Linked DNA regions of Homo sapiens: region 1 is linked to region 2. Evidence: promoter capture Hi-C in human tissues and cell types (Jung and others, 2019). All regions are on one chromosome and are shown on one strand. The core of a region is centred on a gene start or on the middle of the fragment in contact, and the rest is flanking DNA. Distances in the headings are between cores, read along the strand shown.

Region 1 (4,327 bases), core at 1,098-3,597, 180 kb before region 2:
ATTAGGAGGCACTTTCTCAAATAGCTCACACCCAGCTCCCGGCGTTTGGCTCTCACTCTTGCACTAAATATTTCTAATAGTTGCTGAGGGAGAGACACAAAAAGGAAAAGAAGGAAAATAGGGCCCAGGAAGGACCTTTGCCAGGAAAATTCTAGAAAAGCCAAGTGATTTCCGCTGAATTAATTTTAATTTAAAGGTCCTGAAAAATTACTCACTAGACAAAAAACAACAACAACAAAAAAAAAAACACTATAATAAAAATGGCAGTCTTTCAAAAATAAAATCATGCAACTTTTCACTTGGGAAATAACACAGTTGAAGGTGGTGTTCTAACTGCCCGGAGTTTCTACCTTCTTTTTCACTTTCTCCCTCACCCCGACTTCCTCCAGCACCTCCTAGTGAGACCCAGGACACCCAGGGACAGCGACCCAGGGGTGGGTGCCTGAACCTGCCTATTAATTCTGGGATTCTGGGCGCTCAAATGTCTGTTGAACGGATGAATGAATGAGTGGAAAGGTGAGATTTCCCCAAGTTTCTTACCGATGTAAAAATTGTAGGGCTTGTTTTAATTAAAAGCCAATACTCTCCGAGGAAGTGGCCCCCTCCTGCACGGCGTGCAGAAAGCTGGTCAGTGAGGGGGGTTCCTGGCGGGCCCCATCTCCTTCCCGGGCGCTTCCTAGGGAGACCTTGCCCCGTGCGCAGCGTCCCCACCGCGGGGGCCCGTGCAGCCGCCCCCCACGCCGGGTGGAGCGCCGCCAACGCGGGAAGCCCCAGCACTGCCTCCAAAGATGTCCGCACACTCCACCCTGCTCCCTGGAACTATCCTCAAACGGGCAGGGGGCAAGCGAGGCCGGTGGACGCGGGACTCGCTCCTCTGACCTCTCCCCGGCCCCCCGGGAGGTAGCGGGAGATTGCACACGCGATCCTGCGAGTTTCCGAACTTTGGAAGATCGTGACCCGGAGAGACCCTGGGAGGAGAGGGCCGGCCACCTCCTAGGGGTGCTGTTTTTTTAAGGGTCAACCCAGGACGCTACGGGAAGCACCTGGCGCATCCTTGGGAACAGTGGGGCTTGGCGGTGGGCGCCCACCGCGAACGCCCTGGGCGGGGGAAGGGAATGGCGGGGGGACGTCGTGTCCTAAGTGACCCCGTCACAGACCCGCCCCAATCCGAGGGGGGATGAGCTCAGAGGACCTGCCCAGGACGCTCCTTCTCCACTTTCCAGGAAAACCGAGCGGCGTGCGCGCCTCCGTGTCCTCGCGGGAGCTGGGGGTCCCCGGGCAGGCGCTGACGCGCTCCTCCCACGACCCACTCCATCCCACCCTACTCCGGGTCCTCCTGCGGGGCTGCAGCCAAGGAGGGCGCTGGCCGGGCACATCACTCGCCAAATCACATAAATACCCCACGAGCGAATGACTTCCTATAATAAATAAACTCAGCCGCCAAGAAGGCATCTCCAGCCCTGCTGGCGCGAGGCCCCGGCTCTGCGGCTTCGGAGGGGGCGGGGGTCACCGCGGTACAAACCAAGCCCGCACTTCCCGCGGGGTGGGAGGCGGTGTTCAAAGTCCCGGGACGCTTCCCGCCCCTCCCCCTTCCCGCCTTCTTAGAGGAGACCTCGGATGAGCGGCCCTAAAATCCGGATTCTCGAGCCCCTCCCCCTCCCCTTAGCTCGTCTCTTTGAAATTTCAAAGAAAATCCCTCCTCGGAGCCCGGAGCCCGGGGCTGGTAGCACCTCCCCAGCCTCAGGAAGATGCGGGCAGGTTTACAAGCAAGGGCCTACTTTATGGCCCAGGCTATAAAACGCAAATCCCACCTCCCTTTGAAAGCGCCCTCCGCCCGGGACTCACCATAAAAGGAAGAGAAGATGCACCCCGCGCCCCTCGCCGCGGACCACCCCCAAACCCCTTCTCCCGCCAGTCCCCGAACTTCCCGTAACCTCGGCGTCCTCGGGGTGCCGGGGACCATCCCGGGGACCGCCGGGAAAGGGGGCGCCGGCGGAGAGGATAGCGAGAGGCAAAGTTGGAGGCCAGGCAGAGAGAGGGCGAGGAGAGGCGGGCGGGACTGCCGGGGAGGGTCGCAGCGCGCAGAGCCCCGCGCGCCAGGCGGGCTGTCCCGGGGCTGGCGGGCGACGCGGGCGGGACTAGGCGCTGCGCCCCCCGCAGGCTGGGCTGCAGGCCGGGGGGGATCGGCCCCCGCGGGGCCCGGGAGCCCGCGGCGGGGCGGCGGGGAGGAGGCTGCCCCGGGCCGCTGCGCTTTCTCATGCAAAGCAGCGGCGGGGCGGGGCGCGCGGCCCGGGGGCGGGGCCTGTCAGCGCTCGGCTTTTCTGCCCCCCTTTGCCTTTTTGCGAGTCTTCTCATCCCGGGACGCAAACCTCGAAACAGCTGCCGGCTGGTCCCGGCCGAGGCCGGCGCAGGGAGGGAGGAGCCGCCCGGGCTGTGGGGGCGCCGCGAGCTGGGCCGGCCTCGGTGTGCCCGCGCCGCCAGCCCGCTCCAGACGCGCCACCTGGGCGCTCCAAGAAGAGGCCGAAGTTTGCCGCGGCCGTGAGTTGGAGCTCGCGCCGGGCCGCTGCGCCGGGAGCTCCGGGGGCTTCCCTCGCTTCCCGGTATTGTTTGCAAACTTTGCTGCTCTCCGCCGCGGCCCCCAACTCGGCGGACGCCGGGCGCGGAGAGCCGAGCCGGGGGCGCTGTGCGCAGCGCTCGGGCCAGGCCGGGCGGGCATGGGCGGGGGCCCGAGCAGGGGTGGAGAGCCGGGGCCAGCAGCAGCCCGTGCCCGGGAGCGGCGGCGCTGAGGGGCGCGGAGCTCCCCGCGAGGACACGTCCAACGCCAGCATGCAGCGCCCGGGCCCCCGCCTGTGGCTGGTCCTGCAGGTGATGGGCTCGTGCGCCGCCATCAGCTCCATGGACATGGAGCGCCCGGGCGACGGCAAATGCCAGCCCATCGAGATCCCGATGTGCAAGGACATCGGCTACAACATGACTCGTATGCCCAACCTGATGGGCCACGAGAACCAGCGCGAGGCAGCCATCCAGTTGCACGAGTTCGCGCCGCTGGTGGAGTACGGCTGCCACGGCCACCTCCGCTTCTTCCTGTGCTCGCTGTACGCGCCGATGTGCACCGAGCAGGTCTCTACCCCCATCCCCGCCTGCCGGGTCATGTGCGAGCAGGCCCGGCTCAAGTGCTCCCCGATTATGGAGCAGTTCAACTTCAAGTGGCCCGACTCCCTGGACTGCCGGAAACTCCCCAACAAGAACGACCCCAACTACCTGTGCATGGAGGCGCCCAACAACGGCTCGGACGAGCCCACCCGGGGCTCGGGCCTGTTCCCGCCGCTGTTCCGGCCGCAGCGGCCCCACAGCGCGCAGGAGCACCCGCTGAAGGACGGGGGCCCCGGGCGCGGCGGCTGCGACAACCCGGGCAAGTTCCACCACGTGGAGAAGAGCGCGTCGTGCGCGCCGCTCTGCACGCCCGGCGTGGACGTGTACTGGAGCCGCGAGGACAAGCGCTTCGCAGTGGTCTGGCTGGCCATCTGGGCGGTGCTGTGCTTCTTCTCCAGCGCCTTCACCGTGCTCACCTTCCTCATCGACCCGGCCCGCTTCCGCTACCCCGAGCGCCCCATCATCTTCCTCTCCATGTGCTACTGCGTCTACTCCGTGGGCTACCTCATCCGCCTCTTCGCCGGCGCCGAGAGCATCGCCTGCGACCGGGACAGCGGCCAGCTCTATGTCATCCAGGAGGGACTGGAGAGCACCGGCTGCACGCTGGTCTTCCTGGTCCTCTACTACTTCGGCATGGCCAGCTCGCTGTGGTGGGTGGTCCTCACGCTCACCTGGTTCCTGGCCGCCGGCAAGAAGTGGGGCCACGAGGCCATCGAAGCCAACAGCAGCTACTTCCACCTGGCAGCCTGGGCCATCCCGGCGGTGAAGACCATCCTGATCCTGGTCATGCGCAGGGTGGCGGGGGACGAGCTCACCGGGGTCTGCTACGTGGGCAGCATGGACGTCAACGCGCTCACCGGCTTCGTGCTCATTCCCCTGGCCTGCTACCTGGTCATCGGCACGTCCTTCATCCTCTCGGGCTTCGTGGCCCTGTTCCACATCCGGAGGGTGATGAAGACGGGCGGCGAGAACACGGACAAGCTGGAGAAGCTCATGGTGCGTATCGGGCTCTTCTCTGTGCTGTACACCGTGCCGGCCACCTGTGTGATCGCCTGCTACTTTTACGAACGCCTCAACATGGATTACTGGAAGATCCTGGCGGCGCAGCACAAGTGCAAAATGAACAACCAGACTAAAACGCTGGACTGCCTGATGGCCGCCTCCATCCCCGCCG
Region 2 (4,518 bases), core at 706-3,205:
TTGAAATTCCTTGCACCCGTCCCAGACCTCCTGGAATCAGCGTGATCTGGGAGTCTGTATTATTTGGAAGTTCCCTCAGTGGATGCTTACACTCAGGCTAGTGTGGGAAACGCTGACATCTAACCTGCCCCTTTCATGGCACAGATGAGACGTAGGATTTGGGAAGGTGGCTTGGGGAGCCTTCAGCCCTCTCCAGCCCCCGATTCCCAGGCATGCGCTTTTAAGTATGAATAATAAGCAATATGTAGGCCGGGCTCTGTGGCTTATGCCTGTAATCCCTGCACATTGGGAGGCCAAGATGGGTGGATCACTTGAGCCCAGAAGTTTGAGACCGGCCTGGGCAACATGATGAAACCCTCTTTCTACAAGAAATACAAAAAAATTAGCTGGGTGTATTTCTCGTATTTCTACAAGAAATACAAAAAAATTACTACAGGTGGCACACACCTGTAGTACCAGCTACAGGGGAGGCTGAGGCAGGAGGATCACCTGAGCCCAGGAGGTCGAGGCTGCAGGGAGCCATGATCCCACCATTGCACTCCAGCCTGACAGAGCCAGACCCTGTCTCAAAACAAAACAAAGAACACAAAATTATGTGGGCATGGTGGTGGGTGCCTGTAGTCGCAGCTACTCAGGAGGCTGGGAGACGGAGGTTGCAGTGAGCCAAGATCCTGCCACTGCACTCCAGCCTGGGCGACAGAGTGAGACTCCGTCTCACAAAAAAAAAAAAGGAAAAGCACTATGTTTACCGTATAAATGCAGTTTTAAAACCTGTCTGCAGAGGCGACCCTATTTCTACTACCTCCTACAATCATGTTTATAGTTATGGAACATAACAGGTCAGGCAGTTAGTGAGCCTCAGTCCCACTTCCACCTTGACAAATAAACCTGTTCTATCTTACAATATTTCCGGTTGTTTTGTGGCTGTTGACTTTGCCTCCATGAGGAAATTAACTCCTATGGAGGGCACCTAGCTCGGCGTAGACCCGGTCGCTACCACCTGCGATGCCTTGGAAATGCAGCCGGCGGGGCCCACCTGTGGAGCCTGCAGACCGGAATCTCTGGTCTGTGTCCTAACCAGCCCTGCAGGTGATCCCCCGCAGGTGAAGGCTGAGAACCCCTGCGGTCCACGTTGGCATGCACCCAAGGCACAAGTCATTGAAAGCTAAATTTCCAGGTAACGGCCTCCTGGCACCTTAGACTTGCATTGCAGTTTTATTTTCTTTGGGGTCAAAGTTCAAATCTCTGTGTGCTGAGTGAAAGAGCTTCCGACGTTAAAGGCCAGACCAAGATCGAGTCCACTGCTACAGTAGGGCGCTCGGTGCCCACGTGGGCACCATTTCGAAGTCTATGGAGGGTCTACTTCGTGCGCCGCCGCCCAGTTCCACGAGCTAGTAGGGAACTGGCCCGACCCCGTGTCCGCCTGCAGGGGGCTGGCACTGGGGGAACTGCAGGAGTCAAGCCAGGGAAGGCCGGGGGTCTGGGCGAAGCAGAAGAGGAACAGGGCGGGGCCTGGGTGGGGCTGGCCGGGGCCTGTGGGGAGGGGGCAGGGCACGTGTTGGGTGTCTGGGCGGGGCCAGGCGGGGTCTTGGGGGGACAGGGGCGGAGCCTGTGGGGCGGGGGCGGGGCCTGTGGGGGCCTGGGCGTGGCGTCTAGGCAGGGCCAGGCGGGGTCTTGGCGGGATGGGGGCGGGGCCTATGGGGAGGGGCCAGGGCATGTGCGGGGTGTCTGTCCGGGGCCAGGCGGTGTCTTGGGGGGCCAGGGGCAGGGCCTGTGGGGCGGGGCGGGCCTGGCTTGTTGGGCCTGTGCCGGGTGTCCGGGAGGGGCCAGACGGGGTCTTGGAGGGGCGGGGCCGGGGCCTGTGGGGCGGGGCTCCTCTGGTCCCGCCCCGGCCACATCAGAAACCGCCGTTTGCGGGGCAGCCAATGAGGGCGTGGCGCGCGCCGCTTTCCGCCGTTACTGGGCGTATGGCGTACAGACACGAGGCCGGCGCCCGGGAGGCGGTGTTCATCCGCCCGGGAAAAGAGCGCCTGTTGCTCGCTGCCCGCGTGTCCCTGGCTCTCTCGGGAACCCAGCGCCGAAGGCGAGGTGGGCGCGGGCCGAAGGAGGTCCTGGGAGGTCGGCGGCGCGGAGGGATCTCCGCGGGAGCCGTTGGGGCTGTTGGCCTCGGGCTGAGGTGCAAGGACCAGGACTAGGGCGAGGGCAGCGGTCCAAGGTGCGGGGCCAGGCTGAGGTGCTAGGTGTGCGGGGGCCGGGATGCGGGGGCGGCGGCTGGGGGTCCGGGATGTGGAGGTGAGGCTCGAGGTGCGGGGACCGGGTTGCGGGGGCGAGGTCCCAGGTGCGGGGGATGCAGGAGCCGGGTGCGGGGTCGAGGTCCCAGGTGCGGGAGATGCAGGAGCCGGGTGCGGGGGCGAGGTCCCAGGTGTGGGAGATGCAGGAGCCGGGTGCGGGGGCGAGGTCCCAGGTGCAAGGGATGCAGGAGCCGGGTGCGGGGGCGAGGTCCCAGGTGCGGGAGATGCAGGAGCCGGGTGCGGGGGCGAGGTCCCAGGTGTGGGAGATGCAGGAGCCGGGTGCGGGGGCGAGGTCCCAGGTGCGGGAGATGCAGAAGCCGGGTGCGGGGGCGAGGTCCCAGGTGTGGGAGATGCAGGAGCCGGGTGCGGGGGCGAGGTCCCAGGTGCGGGGGATGCAGGAGCCGGGTGCGGGGGCGAGGTCCCAGGTGTGGGAGATGCAGGAGCCGGGTGCGGGGGCGAGGTCCCAGGTGCGGGGGATGCAGGAGCCGGGTGCGGGGGCGAGGTCCCAGGTTTGGGAGATGCAGGAGCCTGGGGTGCAGGGGCCGGGGTGCGGGGGCGATGTATCAGGTGTGGGGGGTGCGGGGCCGGGGGGAAGCGCTGAGGCCCGACTTGCCGGGGCTGTAGGGCCGGGGTGCGGGGGTGCAGGGGCCGGGGTGCGGGGGCGAGGTCCCAGGTGCAGGGGCCGGGGTGAGAGGCTGAGGCCTGAGTTGCCGGGGGTGCGGGGGCGGAGGTCTCCGCATTGGCGGCCGTGCGTGAGACTGCGGGGACCTGAGAGCTCTGCAGGAGGGCCTTCGGGACCTCCCGCACTACCCACGCGGCCGCGGGGCGCGATCTCTGCGGAGGGCGAGGGCCCCTTCCCGCGTCCGCCGCCGCTGCGCTGCGCCCCCGGGAGCCTTGGGAGCCGGACGTTGGGAAGAGGACGGAACTCCGGAGGACCCCAAGTGAGGCGGCGACCGCGACGGCCGGGCTCTGCGAGGCCCGGGGGTCCTCGCGGGTGCTGGCGGCCCGGCCCTTGGCACCTGTGGAGGGAAAGGGGCGGCGGGGCGGTGGCGTCCTGGGATGGATGCTCTCGCCGTCTTCAGCCCCGGCGGCCTCCAGGGCAAAGCCGGCTGCACCCCTGCGCAGCCTGTTCTCTGAGCGCTTTTCTTTTCGTTTTTAAGTTGTGGCCAGAGAGACCCCGCTCGCATAGAATGTACCGCTCAACGGTTTTTAGGCGTGTGGCGCGGTGGTGGTTCCCACGTGCACGGCGTGGTCCTGAGCTCAGCGCCGGAGGGACGTTAGGTGGAAGCGTCTTTGGCAGAGCTGGTAGCGAATCGGAGAGGTGATTTCCAGCGAGTGTGGTTATTGGAAGCACACACTTGCTTTCTGACTTTAAGAATTCAATATCCAGACTGAGGTGGTTTTGAAACTGGAAGGAGATAAAGCTGAAAACCAGAGTTGTGCTGGGAAACCTGGACGTAGAGCGCTGAGCCCCCCAGGTATTTAGTGACCAGCACAGCGCGCCGCCGTGGGTTTCAGGCCCTGGAGATGATGAGAATCAGCTGGAGGGCTGCTTCCAGTCGGCTTCTAACTCGGGAGGGCTGAGAGCCGCTCCCCACCCCGTAATTTCTGTTCCCAGCCAGTCCAGATGCTGCCCGTCAGGGACCAGGCTTTGAGAACTGACGTGCTGCTTTAGGAATATTTCCTGCTGGAGATGAGAGTTCAGCTTGTCACTGTTTTTTAATCACTGTTTCACACCGTTGTTTGTAAGGTGTCAAGCGACGGACTGGGTGCAAAGGCATCAATTGTGATTCGCAGCCTAGTTGGAGAAGCTATGGAGTGCAGAGATGTGGGGAGGGAGAAAACAGGTTACCATGTAGTAGGGTGACCGTGGTCACGCCGGGGAAACGGCTTTCGGAGAAGGGAGCAAGGGATGGCCTGCGAGCTGGTCCTTAAGCGGTTCACTGGATTCTTGTGGTTTCAGAGGAGGGTGAGGCTTTGTTAGCAGAGGGTGTGCCACGGTGTAGGGTGAGTCACGGAATTGATAGTGATAGGAAGCAAGTTGTGTTTGCTGGAGTCTCAAGCGGATGCTTTCAGATTGATTTGTAGATCAGCAGTCCCCAGTCTTTTTGGCACCAGGGACCGATTTCCTGGAAGACAATTTTTCCACGGACCGGTGAGGGATGGTTTCGGGATGAAACGGTTCCACCTCGGATTATCAGGCATTAGATTCTCATAAGGAGCAGGC

What was found. The method cuts DNA at HindIII sites, captures the fragments that hold promoters and counts their contacts. A contact is called where the count stands out against the background at its distance.
Region 1: the fragment with the promoter of FZD10 here is called in contact with the fragment with the promoter of PIWIL1 in region 2 in 1 of the 25 tissues and cell types used here (neural progenitor cells).

The regions. Positions count from the first base shown.
Region 1 is chr12:130,160,117-130,164,443 of GRCh38, forward strand. FZD10 (frizzled class receptor 10) reads left to right here and starts at 2,348. Exons shown (of 1, transcript NM_007197.4): 1 at 2,348-4,327. The coding sequence starts at 2,827. FZD10-AS1 (FZD10 antisense RNA 1) reads right to left here and starts at 1,562. Exons shown (of 4, transcript NR_033834.1): 1 at 541-1,562. RefSeq lists enhancers at 828-1,394, 1,395-1,961, 3,548-4,327. The HindIII fragment of the contact is 10,091 bases long and covers 1-4,327 here.
Region 2 is chr12:130,335,932-130,340,449 of GRCh38, forward strand. PIWIL1 (piwi like RNA-mediated gene silencing 1) reads left to right here and starts at 1,956. Exons shown (of 21, transcript NM_004764.5): 1 at 1,956-2,215. It overlaps LOC101927786 (a long non-coding RNA gene), which reads right to left and starts at 309. Exons shown (of 3, transcript XR_242978.5): 1 at 1-309. The HindIII fragment of the contact is 14,764 bases long and covers 1-4,518 here.